2 separate regions of the Homo sapiens genome follow, and region 1 is linked to region 2. Evidence: promoter capture Hi-C in human tissues and cell types (Jung and others, 2019). All regions are on one chromosome and are shown on one strand. Each heading gives the region's core, a stretch centred on a gene start or on the middle of the fragment in contact. The rest is flanking DNA. Distances are from core to core; before and after follow the strand shown.

Evidence for each region. Contacts are between HindIII fragments. The study calls those that stand out against the background at their distance.
Region 1: a fragment that was not itself captured here is called in contact with the fragment with the promoter of PID1 in region 2 in 2 of the 25 tissues and cell types used here (dorsolateral prefrontal cortex and stomach).

What each region holds. Positions count from the first base shown.
Region 1 is chr2:229,077,979-229,085,094 of GRCh38, forward strand. The region is part of intron 2 of PID1 (phosphotyrosine interaction domain containing 1); the gene reads right to left. Among named protein-coding and RNA genes, the nearest start is that of PID1, 190 kb to the right of the region's middle. The HindIII fragment of the contact is 3,723 bases long and covers 3,499-7,116 here.
Region 2 is chr2:229,269,859-229,277,184 of GRCh38, forward strand. PID1 (phosphotyrosine interaction domain containing 1) reads right to left here and starts at 1,429. Exons shown (of 3, transcript NM_001100818.2): 1 at 1,156-1,429. The coding sequence starts at 1,185. The HindIII fragment of the contact is 5,052 bases long and covers 1-4,078 here.

The DNA of each region.
Region 1 (7,116 bases), core at 4,110-6,609, 190 kb before region 2:
ATGACAATTTCCACGATATTGATTCTTCCTATCCACAAGCATGAAGGAGCATGTGCATGGAATGTTATTCCATTTGTTTGTGTCCTCTCTTATGTCCTTGAGCAGTGGTTTGTAGTTCTCCTTGAAGGGGACCTTCACATCCCTTGTAAGTTGTATTCCTACGTATTTTGTTATCTTTGTAGCAATTCTGAATGGGAGTTTGCTCATGATTTGGCTCTCTGTCTTTTATTGGTGTATAGGAATGTTTGTGATTTTTGCACATTGATGTGGTATACTGAGGCTTTGCTGAAATTGCCTAACAGCTTAAGGGGCTTTTTGGCTGACACAATAGGGTTTTCTAAATATACAATCATGTCATCTGCAAACAGAGATAATGTGACTTCTTCTCTTCCTATTTGAATACCCTTGTGTCTTTCTCTTACCTGATTGCCCTGGTCAGAACTTCCAGCACTATGTTGCATAGGAGTAGTGAGACAGAGCATCCTCACCTTGTGCGGGTTTTTAAAGGGAATGCTTCCAGCTTTGCCCCTTCAGTATGATATTAGCTGTGGGTTTGTCATAAACAGTTCTTATTATTTTGAGATATGTTCCATCAATACCTACTTTATTGAGTGTTTTTAGCATGAAGTGGGGTTGAATTTTATCGAAGGCCTGTCTGTATCTATTGAGATAATCATGTGGTTTTTGTCATTGGTTCTGTTTATGTGATGGATTATGTTTATTGATTTGCTTTCTTGTTTTTGTTTCACAGATGACATCATCTTCATCTTACTTCCCACCTCTCAGAACATCCTCTCCTGCTCCGCCATATTTCCTACTTGTCTTCCCACTGTGAGTGTTCTCTGTGGCTGAATCCTGCTTTTTCTTCCAGGTTATAATAAATTTTTACTCTTGTTCCTCAGCTGCTTTGCAATGGAAAAAAAAATACTTTTCAGAGAGTGAGGAAAATGGAAAAGAATGCTGAAGTAAGTGTAGGTTAGATAAAAATGTTTTATAACATTGCTTAGGCAAAACAAGTGATGCTATGTTTCCAAAGTAGAACTGTATGTAATATCAAGTGCCTGTGGAAACAATTTAAAACAAAAAGGGAGGAAATAAATTGAAAAAAGCAAAAAGTAGATTATTTAAAAGATATACTTTTCTTTTTGTCAAGTTATTATAAATCAGAAACCAAAGCAAATTTACTCATCAAAGACCAGGATGAGTATCGGTCTAAGTCGGGGCTGAGAAGACTGGCCAGGAAATTGTATTTTAACTCTAAAAAAGCCTCTTTGGGACCTCCTTTATTTGCCATGACTGCTATATGGTTTGTTTTATTCAAAATATTTATTCATTGTGTCTACTTATCCTAATTCAACAGGACTTCAAAGATTTGAAGACACTTTTATTTTTTAATTTAAAAATAACATATCTATTGAATCATTTTGCAGTTTGTCAAGAATATATGCTCTGAGGAATCAAAGATGGGAAACCTCTAGAAAGATTTGAGTCTCTTTCCTTAAGCTGCTATACTATCTGTCTTTCTATCCTCTCTAGTTCCATTTTGGTTTCTACAATTTGTTTCCCCAGTTCTCCACTGAGGCATGAGCCACTATTAAGTGTCTATGGCACTCAAGACGTGCCAGGGAAGTGAAGTACTACAAGTTCTTTTCTGTCCTGTAATTTCAAGAAGTGGGTTTTTAGCATCTCCAGTTGTTCCATTTGAGGAGATAAATAGTGGCATGGAAAGATGTAAGATGAGACCAATCTTTCTCTGTATTCTGTCAAGCATCAGTTAAATCCAAAGTTAAAAGAGCAGAGCCTGGGACCAAGGGGCTGAATCTATCCAGTAATTATTGTGCCCCCATTATACTATGGGAAAAAGAAGATGTTTAAGCAGAAACACTCTCAGGTATTCTGGAGGAGGGCAGTGAGGTTGAAGCCATGGCAGGGGAGGAAGGAGATGGGCATGGAGCACTGGCATGGAAGCTGTGAAGTGGGTCCAGGAGGGAGCTTGCCTGGGACTCTGCCGGTCAGAGGCAGCAAGGCAGCTGCAGTCCAGCAACAGGGGAGGGGACAGGTGAGGCGGGGCCTCTCCTGCCTCCCTGTTCTCCAGTCCACCCTCCCAAGGCATGACCTGTGAGCACCTCAGCGGCTGCCTGGCCAGGAGGAGACATGGGTAAAACTTGTCTTCCATGGTTCATGTGAAAGAATCAACAAACAAAAATAAAATACAAATCTCATCAGGTTCCTTCCTTAAAACTCATGGCTGCTCACTGTCTTCTGGACAAAGTTCAAGGCACTTGAGGCTTTCTGTAATCTGGCTTCTACCTACCTTTGTAGCCTCATTTTCACCCCAATACTGAGGCCCTAACAAATCAGGTACCTTTCCCTGAGTCAACACATCCTTACATACCTCTGTGGTTGTGCACATCCTGCATTCTCTCCCGGGCATGGCTCTCCAACACCCATCCTAGCTTCCTGACTTACTTTGTGAATGACCCCTCACACTAAGACACAGACCACAAGTCACCTCCTCACCTCCTAGCCTTTTCCTAACCCTCCAGGTGAAATTAGGTGCTCTAAATTCTGTGTTCAACCCTCATATATGCACCAATTAGAGTTCAGATCACAGAACAATTTAATGCATGTCTTTCTCTAGGAACCTAGGATGTTCTCAAGGGCAGAAGTCACATCCTATTCATCTTGCATCTTTCAGCCATTAGCACGGTGCAGGATGCAGTAGTGACTCAATAAATATTTATTAAATAAACTGTTGTGAATGTTGCCCAAATCAAAATGCAGTCACATATGTTTAAAACAAACAAGAAAACCTCTAACAAATAGAGCTAGGGAAGGCCATGAGAAGGTTCTCATGCACGAATGCCTGATAACAAGAACTATCATAAAAGACTGTAGAAAACACAACCTCACATAAAAGCCATCTCAACCTTAAACAAAATACTTCAGTGAGGACATCTTCCCAGTACCTTCCTGTCCAGCCTCAAACTGGAACCACCCTTGTTATTGCTGGATGCTAGTGGCAAAGGATAATTATCTCAAACAATAATGTAATCTTCCTCATTTTTTCTCTAAAAACCTCTGCTTTCCTTCACCTCCCCGAATACATACATAGCTTACTATGTTACACATATTCCCATTGCAATGCCTACTCCTGAATAAATATCATTTTCTTTTAGAGAGCCTCTCCCTGTTTATTATTTAGGTTTACATTGTTGATACATACATTCAAATACATTTAACCATTGTTTTCTGAAAACTTACCACTCAGCAGACCTCTACAGGATCCTGAAGCTACCAAGGTAGTTAAAACATGATTACTATGCTTAAGAAGCTTGGACTCTTGCAGGGAAGACCAAATATCTAAAGACATAATGATAATGCAACATAAAATGTACAGTGCTTAGGTATATAGTAGGTTCAAAAATGTGACTCAAGAGAAAAATATTGAGATGTAACCTGTCTATAGCAGAAACTTTAATGAAAGGAGAAATAAATTTGGCCAGGATGCTTCAAGCTGATTTAGCAGCCAGCAGAGAGCCACTGAAGGGCTTGGGAGAGGAATGGCATGCTGATGCAGATGGCATTTTAGAAGAACCATTTGGCAGCAGCATGATGAAACCACTGGAGCAAAGAGAAGGTGCAATATGAGACGCTCTAAGCTTCCTTGTTCTGAGTTACAAAACATGACTTCCTGCTTTATAAAGCTGCTTTAGTTCCTTCCATTAAAGGTGACTATATCATCAAGGGAAGCCAAGGAGTGCATGCCACAAAGAGTTAAATGCTGGACAAACAAAAGTTAATAGTGTTTGCAGAATATGATGCATGTTGGCATTTACTGGGAAGTGCAGCTAAAAGCAGAAGAATTTGCCAAATAGCTCAGGAAAGTACCACAGAATTCTCAAAGTCAGGGGAGTTCAAGAAGAGCAAACTGCATCATGAAGAATTCTCAGTCTAGTACTTCCAGCTGGCTTTTCAGAGAAACTGTTTAGTCTCAGCAACACTTAAGTCAAGAGAGTGAAACACAAATTATAACCTTAACCTAACAGAAAATGTGCATAAAACCTCAGTATTCTTTAATATGTCTCAAAATTGTATTTTCAAGCCCAGAGCTGCCACAGAGTCAAGATCAGGTGTTCTTGAGATGTCACCATGATACTCAGAGTAACTGCTCAAGTTTATCAATGATTCAGAGCCTCCTTCAGACTCTGGAAGAGGACGAGGCTCCAACATGGACTATGATGCCAAAAAGAAGGTATAATGTTGCATGGAGAAATGCACACCACCACCAGTCAGTTAAAAACAAACAAACATGGCTGTACCATAATTTGGTATTTCTTCTCTCCCACCTTCTGTGATAGGCAGAATTCTAATTCTAAGGTGGACTCACTGACCTTTACCCCATGGTGTTACTCCAGTGATTATGTTATATCACACAGTGAAAGAGAGTTGCCAGTGTCATTAAGGTTACTAATCAGTTGACCTTAAGAAAAGGAGATGACGCAAGTGGGTTTAATCATATGAATTTTGTTTTTAAAAACCGAAAATTTTCTCTTGCTGTAACAAAGGGGGAAGCCAGAGAGACTGGAAGTGTGAAAAGGACTCCAACACTATTGCTGGTTTGAGGATGGATGGAGTCATGTGAAAAGGGATGCAGCTGGCCTTTAGAGCAGAGAGTGGCTCCTGGCTAACAGCCAGTGATGAAACAAGGATCTCAGTCCTACAACCACAAGAAACAACTCTGCCAAAGATCTGAATGATTTTGAAGTACATTCTTCTTCACATCTTCCATAAGAGAATACAGCTCAGCCAACATCTAGATTTCAGATTTTTAAGGCCCTAAGCAGAAGACCCAGTAAAGCCCACCAGAACTTCTGACCTATAGGACTGTGAGATAACCAATGAGTGTCATTTTAAGCTGAAAAAGTTTGCATTAATTTGTTATAGTGGCAATAGGAAAGGGATGCACCTCCAAAAACTTATTAAATTGATGCCCATAAATTGACGGACATAAAGGTCTCAAAACTAAATAAATGCTTCCATCCTAATGTGATTTCATAAAGCAGGGGAATTGTACATTAAGGAAAACTATAAAGAAAAAAAAAGCACATTGAAGAATGATGAATTTGCGAAAGGCACCCAAGAGATTGTAGGAACAATCTTTTCCCTGCTGTTCAGAGAACCCATTTCTTTCCATGGCCCAACTGAACACCTTATTTTCCAGTAACATAAATATTATAACTCCATCTATTCAGTTGATCATTCATTCATTCAATCCAGTATGTGCTGGAGTGGCTAATGTATACCAAGTAATGGACTGCCCAGCACACCTAGGCCAAGAGTGCAAGGGCATAAAAAACTACTTGGCCGTGCTACAATTCATCACTGCCCATGTCAGGCAAAACATTAAAAGAATTTTTTTTAAGATCTAATGTTACTAGCAAATAGGATGCTAAATTAGACAGGGAAAAGGAGCCTCTGCCCAAATTTTGAATCAATATTAGCCATAAACACTAGTATGACACTAAAGAACTTGAGGCAAGAGAAAAACATCTGTTATTTGAGAAATAACTGAAAAGGATGACACCAGCAAACAAACACTTGATTCAGAACCACCTCTTCAGTTAAGCAGTGAAAATATATGGGTGTATTCTCATTCTGTAGTGAGTGTCAGAAATAATTCCATTATGAAAAGATCTCTTGGTTTGATGAGAGTGAAATTGACCCAGGGAAGCTCTTGGGACTCAAGGGTTACCTGTTCAGAGCTAACATGTTTATTCCAAGTACAACCTTGGCAAGCTGTCAAAGGCAATTCAGATTATAACACCCTTGGTCACGTGCAATAGCTCAAAACAGCCAACGCCACAAGAGAGCTGCCACAGGGGCAACCTCATGACAGAAAGATGTAAAGGTTGACTGAAATATTGAAGAGGTAGCTAAGGAGTTCAATGGCTCCCAGATTTTTACATTCTTTGCGTTACTTTAACCAGGCAGTGAAGTTCAGTAACCTACCACATGCTGTCTATATAATAGGAAACATTTACTTCAGTGAATGATTATAAACAGAAGACACTTGAGACAGCTCACTGCCAATCGGACCCTTTAAATAGTTACATTCTGCTGGCTGACACAGTGTTTATTACTGTGGTTGCTTCAAGCAAGCTCTAAACTAGAACTATACACGAGGAGGTACTCTGGCTTTCCTGGTCATGCCACTGGCTATTTCAGGGATAGAGAGGTGACAAGGTCAGACACAAAGCCAAAGGATACAAGTCTTCTTGCTATTGGCCACCTCCTGTATTATTTATTATCATTATTTTTATTCATTGCCTACATGGCCACCACTTCATACAAAGTGGAAATTTTCTCTTGGCATATGCATGGGGATACTTTAATTGTTCCTTATGCCAATAAGTGGCAGGAAAAGTCTTTTCTTTCTAACTGGTAATGGTGTTGACAGCTCTGTTTCGCCTCCAGGTTAACCTAAAACGATTGAGCTGGCAATAGTGATTTGACTTAGCTGGTGGGTTTACAGGCATATGAATTGCGACTGTCTCATCCCATCCTGCCAAGATAAATGGTTTCTTTTCTATGCTTCAAATATAATTATGTTCCTGATTAATAACAAATGTGATGACACAGACTCTGAAGCAATGCGAAAGCAGCCAACTTTCAACCACTACAGTATTTGTTGTATGACCATTAAAAAAGGGTTCACCAGACTCACAGCCAAGATGGCAAGACTTTTCAAGAACAAAGGGCGAGTGGAGTCTGTGAAGCAAGCTCTAACTTAACATCACATGTGAGAAACAATGCACAGCATTCACTCTCTAGTCACTTGAGAAAAGCACACATTTCTCTTTACTGCTTTAAAGCTTCATAATTCACAGCGAGCAAGCAGTTAGGATACGGCCTAAGAAAAATACTGCTTTATTTTCCTTAGTAGTTCAAAGGAGATAGTTCATTTCAGTAGAAAATCGAGTCACCTCTTTTTAAAACTATGTTTTCTTCTTCCTTCCTTTCTCCTTATCGTTTCTGGATTCTGAACACCTCCCTCTTTAAAGAGCTGAAGACAAGGCTTTCTAACTAGGAAAATGATACAAGATAATGCACCAT
Region 2 (7,326 bases), core at 179-2,678:
CACACTCCCCGCAAATCATGGCCCAGGGAGCTTTGGAAAGGAGCTGTGGGGCATCTGTTTCTGCTAAATGCAATGCCCTCTGCGGGTTGTTCCTCTGTATGAGGACTCCTAGACAAAGGTTAGCCTCTCCCTGCATCTGAGAAACTGTGCTTGGGGCTGTAAATGTTCATTGAGAAGCCTCCAACCTAGCCAGGGCCTGGCCTCATTGTCCTAAGTCTTCAGATGCACTCAGCCTCCAATGGTGCTGTATTTTACCAGTTAAACACGTCTTCAAAGTTTACTACGAAACAATGTGGCTCCTAGCTTGCCAAAAGTTTAACTGCAGGATTCAGTGGATTTTATCTGGCAGAGTAGCTGCCGTGACTCTTGACAATATTTGCCAGCAAAAGGCAGTCCTCAAACCTTGCAACCAGGGCAATCCCAAGGCCCAACGTGTCACTGAAGGAGTTCTTCTGGGAAAGGTCCCTCTTTCTCTTCAATCGCCTCCCGCAAATCCCCAGCTTCCAGAATCCAATTCAAGGCAGTCTGGCATTTCAGGAGACAGCAGTAAAAAACTTTTGATGGGATAACCCAGGACATAAATATTCCTGGCTGAACCTACTTTTGATTCTTAAATATCTGAAGGAGCTTGGGTTTAAGGAAGATAAAGGGAGAGAACCAATGAATAGGGAAAAATAAAATAAGTAGCATACCATGACCAAGCCAAACCAAGCTTGATATTTCCACATTATATTGGCAAATGGATGCTTTCACATATCACTTGTTCTGTCTTTCCTGGTGACCACAAAAAAAAAAAAAAAAAAAAAAAAATCTGGCTTCAAAAATCCTAACCCCAGACCACTGCATTGTGTCAGTGGAATGCAATCTAAATTGCCAGTCAGAAAGTCCAACCTTATATGTACCAACCAACACGCACACAAGCACCTCCAAGCCAAAAGTTGTAACGCCTGAACCCGTGCGTTTATCAATTTCATCATCCCCATACCCCTGCCGGGTTCCTGGCGCTGGGTAAACCGACAGCATCATGTTGCCATCGATGCGTCTTACAAGATGGTTTTGGGCAAATCCCCTAAAGTAGGCAGAAGCAAAAACTAGGTTCCTCTGCCCGGGCACCTCCTCCTCCAGGCTGGCCCCCGGCTCCCGGGTGCCCCTTACCTGCAGGCGCTCCGTGGCCGGCTGCCACATCTTCCAGCCCTGGGTTTTGGCAGAGGAGACGCTGGCGAGACTGTCGATCGCGCCGGGGGGCGAGGGGCTGGGGTCCCGCTTTACATCTGGGGTCGGTGTCCGCGGGATGTGCGTCCTGGCGCTGGCCACCGCCGCCGGGTGGGCGTAGGGGGCTGCGAGCAGGAGGAGGCGCGGCGCTCAGCTGCCGGCAACTTGTGGGCACGGCCGCGCGCCGGCTGTCCTGGCGCAGCTGCGAGAGGACTGCGCAGCTCCGCCCGGGCCCGGCGAGCGCGCGGCGGCGGCGGGGGCGGCCGCTCCCTCCTCCCCCGCCGCCGCCGCCCGGACCTGCGCGCTCTGAGCATGCCCGGGGCGGGCGCCCAGGGGCCGCGCGGGGCGGGAGTGCAGCGCGGCCGACTCTAAATCCTAGTGAGGGGTGAATGGGGAGGCTAGAACAGCCGGCCCTTCCCTGCAGGAAGCCCCCATTGGGTTGGGGTCTGGGAAAAGGGACAGACTGGCTGAGGGGGGAAGGGCCTGGAGCCGGGGGTGGTGGGGGCAGCGGGGATGTCGGGGGTGGCGGGGGTGGGGGAAATTCCTAAAATAAGGAAACCGTAGCCCCGGGGGTCCCGGGTTTCCATATAACAGGCATCTCTGAAGTGCCTGTGCTGTGCCTGGCGCTGTGCTAGGGAGACACTTCCATTCATTCTTCCCACTCCAGTTAACTGAGCATCTATTAGGCTCCAGCCCCTATGCTGGGTTCTGAGGATGCAGCGACGCAGAATAGAAGACAAGAGAATGTTCCTTCTCTCTGGAGCTTACCTTCTGCTTTGGAGAGAGAGTCGTGACTGAGCAAACACATCAACAAGCCGGTGCTATATCGGGTGGTGATAAAACAGGGCAGATGTGGGAAGAAGGGGAGAGGAGAGCTTCTTAGACAAGGGCCCTGGGGAATGCCTGGAGTAAGACCTGAGAGATGAGAGGGATTGGCCACGAAGAGGCCATGCTTCATGATGGGGAGAGGACTCGACTCCTAACCTATACAGGGGTGAGGAGGGCCATGCAGACTCCCGAATCACTAACTCATCCTGAGATCTGCCAGGTGCAGCAGGAGGCTCTCAGAACCCAAGGGAAAGCCGCTCTGGGCTCGCAGGCCTGGAGGCTCCCCGGCTAGTGCCGGCCACCATGAGATGACTTCCTGTCCTAAACAGGCCAGCCCTTCCCATTCTCTTGACAACTCGGCAAAATAACTATTAATATTTTCACCATGTGGATCAAACAAATGAGGCTTATAAGGTTTAGGTCACTTGTCCAGGTCACACAGCCAGTGAGTGGCTTAGAGAGTGCACAGTCAGATGACTTCAGGGCAGGAGATGTGGCCCTGCGCCTCTAACTGACCATGGAAACCCAGTGGAAAGAGCATCCGTCTAGGGCTGGGGGTTAAAGGCACTTGGCAAGTCAGGGATACTAAGCTGATTCTCGAGCTGATGAAGAGTGGGAGAGGAGAACATGGTGGGAAGAACTCAGGACATAGAATGACCAAAGAGAGGAGCAGAGAGAACACAATGTTTGTGGGGAGCCCTAGGCTCCTACAAGGCAGGGTCCTGAGAGCAGAGGGGTGTGAAAGAGAGGCATTTCATACTGAGACAGCTGCACAGCTTGGGCCGTGAGCTACTCATGCAATGTCAAAATCCACACTCCATGTCTGGAAGGAGGATCTGTCCATTTTCCTTGTTCTGCATGACTACAATGATTTCCAGATATGGAACCACTCCAGAATCTAACCCTCAGCTCATCGGACCCTCGCAGCAACTCTCCGTGGGACAGAAGCCCCTATCTCCCAAGGCTTGGGGAGCACAGGGTTCACAGAGTCACACTGTGGGGAGTTACAATGGCGATTCAGATCCAGGATTCCAGGCAGATCCTTCTGGACCCTGCGGTTGCTATGTTGGTGCCACCAGCCTTGGCAAGCCCAGGACCCTCAGTGCCTCTAGGAGCCTCTGGCAAAGCCACAGAGCTGCCTCTGAAGAGCTTGTCTCTGTCTCCCTGGATATCCACAGGACCCTCCCACTCCTGCCTGATAACCACCTGAACCTTCTCAGCTCCTTCTCCAGTTCCTGCTACTTGTTCTGAACTTATTAATAAATCTCTTTTCATGAGGTGTTTGCCTGTCAGCCCGCACAGACATGTGCCTCACATGCTTGGTGATATGGTCTCTGTTTGCTTTTCCGGTAACTCCTCCTGCACACCTCCACACCTACAAAATTCCTTATGACCTTCCCAGCCCCCAGTTCTCTTTTATCAAATCCCAAAGTAGAAAGAAATGCAATTCATTACAAAAATCTAGAAAATCCAGACATGCATATAAACCCCACCCCCCAACCCCCCCAGGAAGCTAAAACAGGAATATTCAGTTGCCAGGGATGTCTTCAGACTTAAGCTCTGAAACCATCCTTGCTTGCAGATGCTTCCGTGGAAAAGTGATTTTGTTTTAAATAGCAGTGGAATGAGTTAACGGCCTAAATTCAAATCGCATTAGAGCGTTAAATCCTGTCTTCTCACCTCCAAACGTAATTAATTGTTATGACTCAGTAATACAGCTTTTAGTACGGAGTATGGTGCTATTTAAAGAGAAAAAGCTTTGGCTCTGTAAAGATTGCTTTCAGTTACCGTTCCCACTTTGCAAACAGATTTGGTAAAGTAAAGAATGTATTTAAACTCAAATGGCACTCCTGTTTCAATTACCTTTATGCCACGAATCAGGAAGCTAGGGGAGGGGGTGGAGGAGGGGCAATTGCAGGCTTGTGGGAGGTGACAAAAGGATGGGACAACCTCCCACTCATAGATTTTGCTCCCAAGTCTTCCCATTCAGGAGGAGCCTGCAATGAAGGGTGAATGAAATAGAGACATCTGCTGGCTAGAGATGAGACCTGCATGCCAATGTCTCCCAGCTCTGTTCTGTGACATTGGAACCTCATCCTTCCTGGTGAATCTGAAAATGCTGCCTTACGATGTAAACAGGTTTGTTCTGAGCAAGAAACCACCCTTAAAATGAGCAGAAGGTGTTTTGGTGCAATGAGTAGAAATATTAGGCATGTAAATGTGTGCCTAATTTCATGTACTTAGTCTCCTGCAATTACCGAAACAGGTCTAATCTTGTCAATAAATACCATTTGAAGGCAAATGACAGAAATCAAAAAAGCTTGACAAGGCACAGATGCGTTATTCACACATTTGGTTCAGAAAAATAATTACAGCATCCCTAGAAATTGTGTTAAGCCAGATTTGATCTAGTTCATGGTTCTGAGCCCTAGCATAAGCAACCTCAATGTCCAAGTCAGAGTAATGGTGAATGAAAGTATGGTCCAGCATATCAAAGAAATATTAAAATATTATGCAGCATTTAAAAGGATAATTATAAAGTTGTGTTGCAGCTGAAAATGATACAATTATGGTTTTTAAAGTAGGATAAAATGTATATAATTTGAATATATGTATAAAATATTTATCAATCTCAGTAAATGTTGGAAAGGAGCTAGGACAAGCAGAAGACTCAGGTTGAATCCCAGCCTTCGAACTGTCTACCTAGGTATCAGCTTTTCACAAGTCATTTGCCTTGCTGAACCTCAGATTTCTCTTCTATAAAATGGGTGATAATATTACTTAATACTTAGGATTTTGGGGAGGAGTGAATGAATTAATATGTGCAGCATGCCTGACACATGGTAGGTGTGTGGGAAACATTCGTTTTCATCCCCATTATGTTTCTTTCTCTTTTTATTATTGGAATGATCCAATTCTCACAAAGCGGCCCATGCTTCTTGTGGTTACACTATTTCCATTTGGAATATTTGTGGGTTTCAATTATTTGCTTTAGATTCTCAAATAAAAATGACAAAGGATATTCAAGCTCACTTACGATTCTTTTTTCTTTTTTGAGATGGGATCTCACGCTATCGCCCAGGCTGGAGTGCAGTGGCGCGATCTCGGCTCACTGCAACCTCAACCTCCCAGACTCAAAGCAATCCTTCCACCTCAGCCTCCTGAATAGCTGGGACTACAGGTTTGTGCCACCACACCCAGCTAATTAAAAAAAAAATTTATGGAGATAGAGTATTGCTGTGTTTCCCAGGCTCCCTGGGCTAAAGTAATTCACTTGCCTTGGCCTCCCAGAACGCTAGGATTACAGGCATGAGCCACCATACCTGGCCCACTTACAATTCTAACTTAAGCAGATGACAGCAAAATTTATTATGGTTGTGTATTTAGCAGAATTATCATTAAAAAGCCCTTGTTATGGTATCACTAACCTTATTTCAAAATCACCAAAACAGCTGTATATAAATGAGCAATATAAAAAAGTCTGAAAATTCATTCGACCATTTAAACCTCCCAGTAGTGACAGAACCACTGGCTTTCGTCCCTACAGAGTGATAGGAATGTATTGGGATGTTAAGATGACGCTTAACAGGGTAGGACTGGCTCATTCGTGTGTTGTGACTCTCCTACTCTTGACTCCTCATATCCTCACAAACCTTAGACACCTGATAGATTATTTTCAGAAATGCCCACAAAAATCTCCCCTCCCCAAGGAAGTCATGCCCATTTGCACTGTAACTTGCCTGCTTCTCTCATCATGAGATGCAATCTGTCCACATTCCTTGAATCTGTGCTGGACTTGTGGCATACTTGACCAATAAAATGCAGCAGATGTGACACTGTGGAACTTCTGAGCTTGGGCCACAAAACACTTTGCAGCTTCTGCTCTCACCCTTTTGGAACATAAGTCATCCTATGAAGGAGCCTGGACTAGACTCCTCAAGATGAGAACAACACAGAGGGAGGTCAGACCATGAGTTAGCACCCACAGCCAGATATGTGAGTAAGGTCATCTCATAACACCCAGCTCAAGCCACTACACGACAGCAGCCACATGGGTGATCCCATGTGGGTCCCACCAGTGGAAGAACCACCCAGCTGAGACCTGCCAACTGCTGACCCACAGAATCATGAGTACATAACAAGGTTGGGTTTTATCCCTTAAGTTTTGGGTGGTTTGTTAGGTAATAATAGAAAACTGATAGAGAAAACATCACTAATAAGTGTCTGTCTTTCCCGCTAAACACACCCTTCTCAACATTTCCTAACAACCAATTGATCAGGGTTAGCAGTAAAATGAAGCCTAATAGTCTAACATAAAAACTTATTTCCTCTTTTGGTTTTATTTCTGCTCTCACAATTCCCTCATACACACCTCCATCCTAGTCTCAGATTGTGTGGGCCCTGTATCCAAGTCCCATCTGTTAAATTTTCTAGTAAGTCCCTCTGAAAAGAAGATGGGAATTGGGCTGGGCGCCAGCCATATAATGATTAAGATGAATTTATTTTCTGGCACAATTTGCAATAAACATGAACATATCTGCTCTTTTACAGCCCTTCTCACCCTCTCAGCGACACTGTCTCTAGACAGCTATCTGCCCATCATTTTGGATGGGTAAATACAGCTCCTCTTTCACTTAGAGCCTGGGGGAATTGAGAGTGAAATGGAGAGTGGTGTTTAGATTTGCCTTCACCACATTTAGCCCAGAAAGGGGCAACTCTGCACTATTAATGTTCTCTGTGGTTTCTAAGGGTCCTTGTCCTCATCTGTATTCGTGATGAAATGATTAGCTCTATGATCCCAAATACATTCTCATGGGGACTTGTGTGAAGCCACACCTTATGCTATCTTCCCACTTCATCCTTTCTCCATCTGAGCTGACTTCACACAAAAACCAATCTTCCTTTGCTTCTATTTTTTTCTCCCTTTTCTTCCCACTTTCATTATCAAAGCCAAGAATTACTTATCCTAAAACCTATAGGAAATGTTTGGGCATAACTTATAGAAATTAGGTTGTCTAGAAAAAAAGTCTCCACAATAAGAAAGATGATTCCTGATCTACCCTGGCCTTTGCTTAACTCAAAACCTCCATGTACAATTGTGCAGTGCACAACCTGCGCTGCTGAACATGGCAGCCCTGGCTAGACTACTTTTTCTCTGCATTTCATTCAGAGATCCACAGGACTACTCCATCATAAAATCATAAGGGAGTGGTGTAGATAAAGTTGGTGACCCTATGGATAAGAATTGGAGAGAGGTAAGGATAAATGAAATCTTCATCTTTAACA